Linked DNA regions of Homo sapiens: regions 1 and 3 are each linked to region 2. The links are contacts of gene promoters, found by promoter capture Hi-C in blood cells and fetal thymus (Javierre and others, 2016). All regions are on one chromosome and are shown on one strand. Each heading gives the region's core, a stretch centred on a gene start or on the middle of the fragment in contact. The rest is flanking DNA. Distances are from core to core; before and after follow the strand shown.

Region 1 (3,389 bases), core at 720-3,219, 390 kb before region 2:
TCCTCCTACTCTTGCCTGTTAACTGGCTGTCTCCTTTTCCTTCAGGTCTTAGATCAAATGTCACCTGCTTGTGGAGGCCATCCGTGACCACTTGGGTGTATTAAAGATGGCTGCAAGTATCTGTATCACTCCCTCCCCACACCCTGCATCAAGAGGTGGGGTTTATTTCTTCTGTTGAATCAGGGCTAGCTCTGTGATTGCTTTAACCAACCCAGTGTAGCAGAAGTGATGTTGTGCCGGTCCTAGGCTTAGCCCGTAAGAGGACTGGCCGCTCCTGCCTCCCCACTCTTGGCACACTTGCACTTGCAATCTAGCTGCCATGTACAGGAGCCTAATTTAGCTACATGCTGAGACCACGAGGAGAAACCGTGTGGAGAAAGAGAGAGGTCTCAGCCTTCCAGCTGTCCCTGCCAAAGCACCAGACATGTGAGTGAAACCATATTGGATATTCTAGCCCGGGTTGCCATCTGGCTACAGCTGCATGGCAGACCCCAAACAAGACCAACAGAAGAACTACCTGGCCAACCCACAGGATCATGAGAGAGAAAAATTGGTTGTTTTAAAAAGCCACTGAATTTTGAGGATAGTTTGTTACACAGCAATATAGCTGAAATGCCACCCTATTTATAAATAAATCATATTCCTTTTGTTCTCTGCACTGCACCCTGTTTTTCTTTTCAGCACCCTTTACCTTTACAGTGATGCATCTGTTGTTTTATAATCTGTTTAGTATCTGTTTTCCCAATTAGATTAAAGATCCATGGTGCAAAACTGGAGTATTTTAATTGACCATTGTATACCTAGTATCACAGAGTGTGCAGCACATAGTAGGCACTCAGCCAATGTTTGTTGAACGAATGAATGAATTTAAAAGGTTCCAGCATTTATTTGTTTTGTGAGATCATTTCCCTCCAGATACAGAGAAAAGAATCTGTAAATCTTCACCTTTGGTGGCCTTTCAAAAACAACCTTCGAAAATCCTGTTTTTAAATCCTTCTTTGCAAATCAAACTTCCACTTTGCATCTCCTACACACCTGCTCAACAGATTTTAATGCTTCCCTATTGGCAAGAGTATAAAGCCTTAGCATTTTCTTTTTTTTTTTTTTGAGAGAGTGAGTCTTGCTCTGTTGCCAAGGCTGGAGTGTAATCCTGTGATCATGGCTCATTGCAGCCTTGACCCCTGGGCTCAAGCAATCCTCCCAGCTTAGCCTCCCTAGTAGCCAGGGCCACAGGTGTGCACCACCACACCTGGCTAATTTTTAAAAATTTTTTGTAGAGACAGGGTCTTCCCATGTTGCCCAGGCTGATCTCCAACTCCTAGCCTCATGAGATCCTCCTGCCTCGGCCTCCCAAAGTGCCGGGATTATAGGTGTGAGCTACCATGCCTGGCCAAGCCTAAACTTTAATACGGTAGTCCAGGCCCCTTCAGTCTGCATGTATAGCCGTTGCCCAGTGTCCCTTTCTTGACCCTCTTACACCCATCACATCAGGTTCTCTGTTATTATCTAGGCTGCTGTGGACCTTTCCACTTTCCTGGAGCCTTTCTTCTCTACTTCTACCAATTCCCCAAGAGACCTCCTTTCTTCAAGAAGCATTTACCAACAGCCTATGCTTTTTAGTGGGCATCTTTTCTTAACTGAGCAAACCATTGAACCAGTCCTCCGTTGGAAGTGGGAGCCATTCTTGATCCCACAGAAAGTTTAGAGACAGTGGAGCACTGGGCTGGGAGTTCAGGGACATCACTTCTGGTCCAAGCTCTGCTGCCAACTTGTGTGGTGACTGCATGTGATTGAGCTGCTCGTTCCTTATCTGAAGAATTAGGAGCTTGGATAAAGATCCCTTTCAGCTCTGAGGTTTTTCCATATTCAAATTTGCTTTACAGTGATAGGAAGAACAACCCGCTGATTTATGTACCTTTGGGTCAGAATTTGGCTGACTTGTAGCATCAGCAGTTTTACGTGAACAAAAATTTCAATTTCATTAGTACAGCCAAGTTAATTATACTGGGTTGGCAGTGTATTCTGAGAGGCAGAATGTCCACGGAGCCAGAAGTCAGGAGGCCTGCACTGTCTTGCTGCCCTGCCACTAGCTGGAGGAGAGCAGACCAGCCGGAGGGAAGCTGGCAGACTTCTTGGACCTTCACCACCTCATTTCTAAACTGGAGGTAATAATAATAATAAAGTATGCCTGTAATCCCAGCATTTTGGGAGGCCGAGGCAGGTGGATCCTGAAGTCAGGAGTTAAAGACCAGCCTGGCCAAGATGGTGAAACCCCGTCTCTACTAAAAATACAAAAATTAGCCGGGTGTGGTGGTGGGTGCCTGTAATCCCAGCTACTCAGGAGGCTGAGGCAGAGAATTGCTTGAACCTGGGAGGGAGAGGTTGCAGTGAGCCGAGATCACACCACTGCACTCCAGCCTGGGCAACAAGAGCGAAACTCTGTCTCAAAAAAAATAAATAAATAAAATAAATTAAAAAAGTAAATAAAGTGTTTTCATTCACTTCAGGTTTGTTCTGAGGGATTAATGTATGTAATATAGCAATGATTTGATAGGTCATTATCAAAATGTAACTGAAAGAAAATTATCGGTATATCTATTTATCAAGATAATACAGGCTTTTTCTATTTACCTTGGGTGCTCTGCCCACCCCTAGATCCCTTTATAGTGTTCCAGTTTCTGTCCCTTTGTGTCCTGCCAGATGGATGAGATGGAAGAAGCACTACTATTTTATGAGAACCTCCAATGTACAAGGCACTGGCCATACGTGATTTTTTGTTTGTTTGTTTGTTTTTTAAGATAGAATCTTGTTTTGCTGCCCAGGCTGGAGTGCAGTGGCATAATCTCGGCTCACTGCAACTTCTGCCTTCCAGGTTCAAGTGATTCTCCTGCCTCAGCTTCCTGAGTAGCTGGGACTACAGGAATGTGCCACCACGCCTGGCTACTTTTTGTGTTTTTAGTAGAGATTGGGTTACACCACCATGGTAGCCAGGCTTGCCTTGAACTCTTGACCTCAGGCAATCTGCCTGCCTCGGCCTCCAAAAGTACTGGGATTACAGGCGTGAGCCACTGTGCCCGGCCCTGTTTTTTTTTTTTTTCTCCTTACAACATTCCTATAAGGAATAATTGTATTATTAGTTGGCATTCTTTTAGTTGTCAGTAACATAACTCTGACTCAAACTAGTTTAAGTTAAAAAAAATTGGTGGGGTACATTTATTTTGTTCATATAACCTAAAAGTCAATGGGCATTCTGGCTTCAGGCATAGCAGGATCAGGGGGCTCAATGGACCCTTTCACATTGTTTTTCTTTGTCTCTCTAGTTCTTCTCTCAGCTTTTTCTGTGTTGATGTCATTTTTTTTTCTTTTTTCTTTTTTTCTTTTTTTTTTTT
Region 2 (3,314 bases), core at 650-3,149:
TGGAAATCAGGACTGTTTAAATTATATAACAGCTCTAGAGGGGTCTCAAGGAGCACCAGCAGTCACATCCATTATTTCTGCAGCAAAACTATGAATATTCACACTAAGTGACATAAAGACAAACCACAAAAAATTCACATTCTTTCAGGTCAGGCTTTGCTACCAAATGAGTTTGTGTTGAACTTAACAACAAACCTTTTGGTTTTCAAAATGTTTCAGATTTCTTAATTAGAGAATGAAAGAGTATTGATCGAATTACTCTTCTGGTTGTGGTTGTTTGACAGAATGTAGGTATTCAGTGTAGTATGCAAGAGACCAAGAGATATGATTTCAGGGTTTGAGAAAGGATTTCAGGATTTCAGATTTTAAACTCTTGTAACTTCCTCTTACTAATCCTTACCTTCCTTTTCACAAGGGACAAAACCTTTCTTTTTACAGAGAGATACTTGTAAATGCAAATACCACTAAGAGCAGCAATATGTAAATTGATGTCACAATACACAGGGATTGTTAATGACAAAGGTCACCTTCTCTTTTGAGAACAGGAACTGAAAGGGGGAAGGAACTGGGTGCCAGAAAAGGGACCCCACTATATTGCAGAAAGGCAGGCACACCAGCGGAGCTGAAACACATTAGTTGGTTCAGTGTGTGGTCAGAAGCTGGTCTGGATTTTTTGTCTTTTCTCTTATCATTGAGCGGTTTTCTCAGTTGGATGTGAGAATATGCGGTTTAAATTATGGGAAGAAAATTCCTCTCAACTTTAAGATTGGATGCTGTGAGTCAATATAAGGTAGAAGCCAACGTTTGGCTGCTTGTACCACTCTCTAGCTGGGTGAACTTGGGACAGTTATCTGTTCTCTCAAAAATTTAGTTTTCAAATCTGTTAAATGGGGGAAGATAGTGGCTCTTCTCCAGGGTTGTTGAGAGTATTACCCATAGAATGTGCATGGAGTCCCGAGCCCAGGTCCTACACACTGATATTTTCGTGAGTGTGAGGGACCTTCTTGGATCTTTCAGTCCTCCATTTGTGATTATATGTCTATCTAAATTGATCTATCAGAATTATCTCTTTATCCCATCTCTGGCCTTCTCTGAAGCTGGTAATGAGATGAGAATAGTTCAAGACAAAAACCAACCCATTTCTAAATCTTGGGAACATAATAGAACTGATTCTCAGAAGCGAGTTGACACTTAGCTTACCATACGGTATTCTGAAGAATATCCCCCAAAGTAATCAGGTCTTGATTTACTGGATGGAATAAAAGGGTAGAAGGTTGTATCCACAGCCTATGTGGTATCTCGTTAATGCACCCTCTGGCTATGTAAAATACATATTCATTGTCAAACCTCTTTTTAACCAGAGGATTGAATTCAGGTCAAAAAGTACCGTCTTTTAAAATCAGATTTGTTCATTTAGAAAACCTAAATTGGCAGTATTCCTGGAGGAGAGACTGACTTAAAGTAGGGCATGGAGAATGTGTTTTGAGAAGCATACTTTCTGTACTTTCCCCAGCCTTGGAAGATAAACCTCTCTATCCTGTGTGAATATGCAGATACACCAACTTCATCTTGAAACTTTGCAAATGAGTTTGTGAGGGTTCAGTCTTTTACAGAACTCCATTCCCTCCCTTGGAAGAATGACTTGAAAGTGGTAACTTTTTCTGCTGTCCACTCGGCCCCAGCTTAGCCTTGCTCCATAAAGCACAACCCCGTGCCACCAGCTACAGCCTTCTTTGTCCCAGTAACTGACTGGAAACTTGCTTTTCTCACCACAAAAGTTCTTGGAGTAAAAATCTGAAGCACTTACCAATCAGCGCAGATGCAGGGAAGCGAAGGCGAGAGACAGGGAGGGCGTGTGTGCTCACCGAGGCTGGGCCTGGCTCCTCTGCGGCAGTGGCTGCTGCTGGCCGGCTCCAGCTCCTCTTATCTAGGGACCAGCTGCTGCTGTTGCCATGGGGATGCTCTGTTTCACAGGCACCAGGGCAAGGGGGATGGAGAAGGAAAGAGGACTAACATCTCCATCGCTGCTCTCCACGGCAATCATTGTACATTACAAAAGTACAGTATAGAGTCGTGCTTTGAGTTTCCGGTGTGCACACCAGAGAAATTCAGACAAACCAGCTACATCATTGAATTCCCATGCGATAGATTTTTTTTGGCCTGATTTTGTAAATATGGAAACTGAGGCACAAGAAGTTAAGTGATATGCCCAAGAGAGGCCACAGCTAATTTCGACTCTCAAAGCTATTTAAGTTTAAATCCAGAGTACTTTCAATCACTATTGCTGCTTCTCAAAGTACTATCATGAGGAGGAAGAGAAGGGTAGCTACTGCTAACATTTATGTAAGGCTACCAAAATGCCAGACACTCTTCTAGAGACTTCACACATATCTACTTACTTAACCCTCAGGCCAACCTTGTGAGATGAGCTACAGTCATCATCCCATTTTATTGATGAGGAAGCTGGGGCTCAAGAGTTACCAAATCATCTGACCAAGGTCTCCCCACATGGTGAAGCTAGGGTTTGAATGGGGTAATGAAATGCTAGGGTCCACGCTTGTAACCACTTTGCAATACCTCTCAGCAAAGAGAGCATTTCAAACAGCACATAGCAAAGAAAGCAGCCCCCAACTCTATAGGTTATAGTGTGCAGGCCAGAAAAAATTTCCTCCTTCAAAGGAACAAAGCCAAATGTACCAATATTAGGAATACGTAGGCACTCAAGAGTGGATGTTTAAGCAAGGTGGGAGAGGCGGGAGACATGCTGTCTTTTGGAGAGGAAGGTTCTATGTTTTGGGTCTGCTCACTGGAGGAGAGCCCACTGGGGTTTGGAGGAGCAGCAGTTTTGACTCCAAAGCAGGAAGGCCAGTCTGGGAGATCAGGTAGGTATCAGGACCCACTAGAAGGGCTCCAGACCCCCTGATAGCAGCCAATGGACCACCCAGTGATGCCCAAGAAATATGTTCTCACAGAAGATACGTGAGCACCATCCACACATCCATATTTTTTCCAGTCTTACCTGAGGTTCCCTGCAGAGCAGGTCCCTGGCAACCCCTTGGTTTCAACTGCCTGCTTGCCACTGGCAATGTGTTTGTTGGTGCCTCCCTCCCACTTGCCAGGATCCCAAATAACAGGGCTAGAACCATAGTAAACTCACCAAGAGGTTGACTCCTAGGGTTAGACTTTTGCCATGGTAACAGATAAGCAGAGAATGGACTTCTTTGCCTGTTCCATTTTGTGTTGATCCTTATTGGGACCTCCTGGGAAGAGATGAGGGTTGCTGAAAGGTGATGCTCTTGTCTAGGAAGGGAAGG
Region 3 (3,078 bases), core at 464-2,963, 430 kb before region 2:
GTGGGAGAGAGAGAGAGAAGGGAAAATAAAAACTAGCTTCCAGCTTGCCATTGAGGCTGGTTCCTTTGAGCTTCCCAGCTTCCCTGTCCCCATGCCTTGGGCACCCTCCCACACATTATCTGGCTTGATACTGCCTCTACCCCCCATCCTGGAGGAATTCTTCTAGAAGTTTTGGGTAGGAGCACAAGTTGGCCATATTACCACAGTATCACAAATGATCTAGAGAAACTGCAAAATGCTTTACAACTTAGAGGTATGCTGTGGTTTGAAAGTCCCATCTGAAACTCAGGTTGAAATTTAATTGCCATCATGATGGTATTAAGAAGTAGGACCTTTGAGAGGTGATTAAGTCATGAAGACTCTGCCCTCATGAATGGATTAATGTTCTCTTGGGAGTAGGCTGGTTTTCACAGAGTGGGCTCCTGATAAAAAGATGAAATTCAGTCCCCATTCCCTCTCTGTCTTGTGTGCTTGTTTGCCTTTCCACCAGATGCCAGCACCATGCTCTGTGGCTTCCCAACCACTAGAACAGTGAACCAAATAAATTTCTGTTCACCATAAATTATGAAGTCTTTGGTAATTCTATTGTAGCAGCAGGAACAAGACTATAAGATAAGGTAAAGGAAGGTCACGTTTTATTTTTATTTTTGAAAATAAAATCAAACTCGGCTCTAAGCCTCACTAGCTACGGTTAGGGGAAGAATTCTAATATTCATTTTTATTGGGGCTTTTTCCTCTCTACTGAATCATGCAAGGACCTTAGCACTTATATATTCTTGAACAGTAAAGAAAGAGCCTGGCCTTAAGTCCACGGTGATCACATTGTGAATATTTCTCTATCTGCTCACAGATGTTCCTTTTGGGACCTGGTCCTTTATGCTGTCAGGTTCTGCTTCTATACTTGTCTGTGGTGATGCTCACAGGATCCTTCCCCACTGACTGCATATTTAACCATGGCGATGCCATGTAACCCTCCACTCTCTCCTTAGCCCTTTTTCCCCAAAGCACTCGCATGACTTCCCAGGCTCTGGGAATCCAACCCTTAGGGAAAAGACAAGTCTGTCTTCCTCTTGTTGCATCAGTGTCCAGCTTGTCCTCCTCTTGCTCAATCTCTCCTAAAACATTGTCCTGTTAAAGCTTCCTTTAGGGTAACAGAAACCAGCCCTCAAGGATGCAGATCCCAGCTGGCTCCCTCTTGAGAGTGGATGGGAAGAAGCCTGAATTCTTTTGGCTGATGAGTTCACAACAACACCCCTTCCCCCAACCTTTAAATTAAAAGTACGAGACCAATTTAATTTATCAATAACTCACTCTATTCCAGAATTTCTTTAGTCATTCAGGAAAGAAAAGTGAGCAGTAGATTTTGAACACTCTTGACTGCAACCTGCCATAAGAAACACACCTCTAGCCAGAGTGATCAAGAAAATAAGTGAAAGGACAAATTACAAGCATTAGGAATGAAAGAGGGGACATTAATGTAGATCCTGGTATGCACATGTGTATATGTGTATGTGTGTGTCCACATTTGTGGTAAACTGACCAACTGTTAAAATGAGGGTAAAAGACTTGAAAACATAAAGAGGAGAAAGGGTTCTATACTGTAGTCAGAAGGCTTAGGTTCCAGTTATGGCTCTGATAATAATTTTGAGCAGGTCTATAAACTGCTAGGGGGCTCAGTTTTATTACCTATAGAAGAGCCTAACACATCTGCATTCATAGGCCCTGAGGCCCAGAAGGAATCTCATATGTGAAATCATCGTATGAACTATACAGTTCTGGTTACATATGACATAGTTTTCTTATAGTTGTTATTATTATTAGTGGAGCGTGGCCATAGTTTTTTGTCAAATAGTTTTGAAAGCCTATCTAGACAAACTGCTTGAGATTCTTCATATTTTCCTTTTGACCTTTAAAACAAAACCTCTACAGAGGTTTGGATAGAAAGAGAAGTTGACCATATCAAAATAGGTAGAAATTTCAAGGATATTTTCCTACTGATGGGCTTCTAGATGCCTACCAAATGAAAGTTTTGATTTCTGCCTTTTGCATCTATTTACTCTGAGGAGCCAAGAGGTAGAGATTTTTCACTTGTGTAGTTGAGCAATAACTTGTGTATAAAAGTGCTTTCCCCATATGGTTCAGGAAGTCATAGTGAGATGAGGAGTGTTAACACTCTGGATGCTTATTGCCATGAAATGGTCTATAGGGTGCTGTAGATGAACTTGTCCAGAGATGTGACTAAAGCTCTGGGAAGAAATGACCATGTGATTATAAGGGACATAAGCTTTATAATTCCATAAATTTGTAGTTCTAAGCAATAGCAAAAGGGGACAAAAATTATCTAATAGGGAATGTGGACTGACAAGGCTTTCAGGTCAACCTCCTGTATTCTGGCTTCTCACTCTCTAGCTCACTGCTTCCTCAGCTTCCAGATTTTCAAGGTTACTGCACCTTCTGTGGTTTCCAACAGCTCATCATTCCTCTCTCCCCAGGTGGTGAATCAGGAGAGGAAAATACAGGTGGCAGAAAAATTCTGGCACCTTCTCTTTTGCTGTTTTACATATGTATGCACCTATTATGAGCAGGCCCCCTGCCATTTGGGGAGGTCATTAAGGTGTTTACTTGGAATAAATCTGACAAACCCCTGCCTGCTTCTTGGTTATTATGATGTGTCAGCTTTGATCAGAGGCAATAAGGACACTCTTCTCCTATTCCCCCGAGAATAGCAGGTGTATTATCTTATGGGGTTTTCTGAGTACAGTTAGAAGCATCCTTTGGCAATGAAGTAAGTATAGCTCTGTGCTAGAAGGAAGATAAGTGCATCAAGTCTTCTACAAATTGAATAGCATATAAGCATGACATTACAGTTGTAGGTGCAGAAATAAAAGGGGAAATGCATTGACTAAGATGCTATAAAATCATCACATGAAGTTTCAAAGCACCCTGTAGTTCCATCCCACGGAAGTGTCATATTTAAGGACAATACCTTAATTGTGCTTATGCCTTTCTAATGTTTTAGGAATCTTAAGGGCTTGGTCTAAGAAAATTCTTTTTAAAGTCTCTCATTGTTTCTCTTTG

Evidence for each region. The method cuts DNA at HindIII sites, captures the fragments that hold promoters and counts their contacts. A CHiCAGO score of 5 or more calls a contact.
Region 1: a contact is called between a fragment that was not itself captured here and the fragment with the promoter of PPP1R17 in region 2, in 1 of 17 cell types (neutrophils). The highest score is 5.6, in neutrophils.
Region 3: a fragment that was not itself captured here is called in contact with the fragment with the promoter of PPP1R17 in region 2 in 1 of 17 cell types (neutrophils); the score reaches 9.0 in neutrophils.

What each region holds. Positions count from the first base shown.
Region 1 is chr7:32,076,646-32,080,034 of GRCh38, reverse strand. It overlaps a transcript of PDE1C not described here. Among named protein-coding and RNA genes, the nearest start is that of PDE1C, 7.9 kb to the right of the region's middle. The HindIII fragment of the contact is 4,044 bases long and covers 1-3,389 here.
Region 2 is chr7:31,685,800-31,689,113 of GRCh38, reverse strand. PPP1R17 (protein phosphatase 1 regulatory subunit 17) reads right to left here and starts at 1,899. Exons shown (of 5, transcript NM_006658.5): 1 at 1,808-1,899. It also overlaps a transcript of PDE1C not described here. The HindIII fragment of the contact is 9,056 bases long and covers 1-3,314 here.
Region 3 is chr7:32,116,032-32,119,109 of GRCh38, reverse strand. It overlaps a transcript of PDE1C not described here. Among named protein-coding and RNA genes, the nearest start is that of PDE1C, 47 kb to the right of the region's middle. The HindIII fragment of the contact is 1,147 bases long and covers 1,140-2,286 here.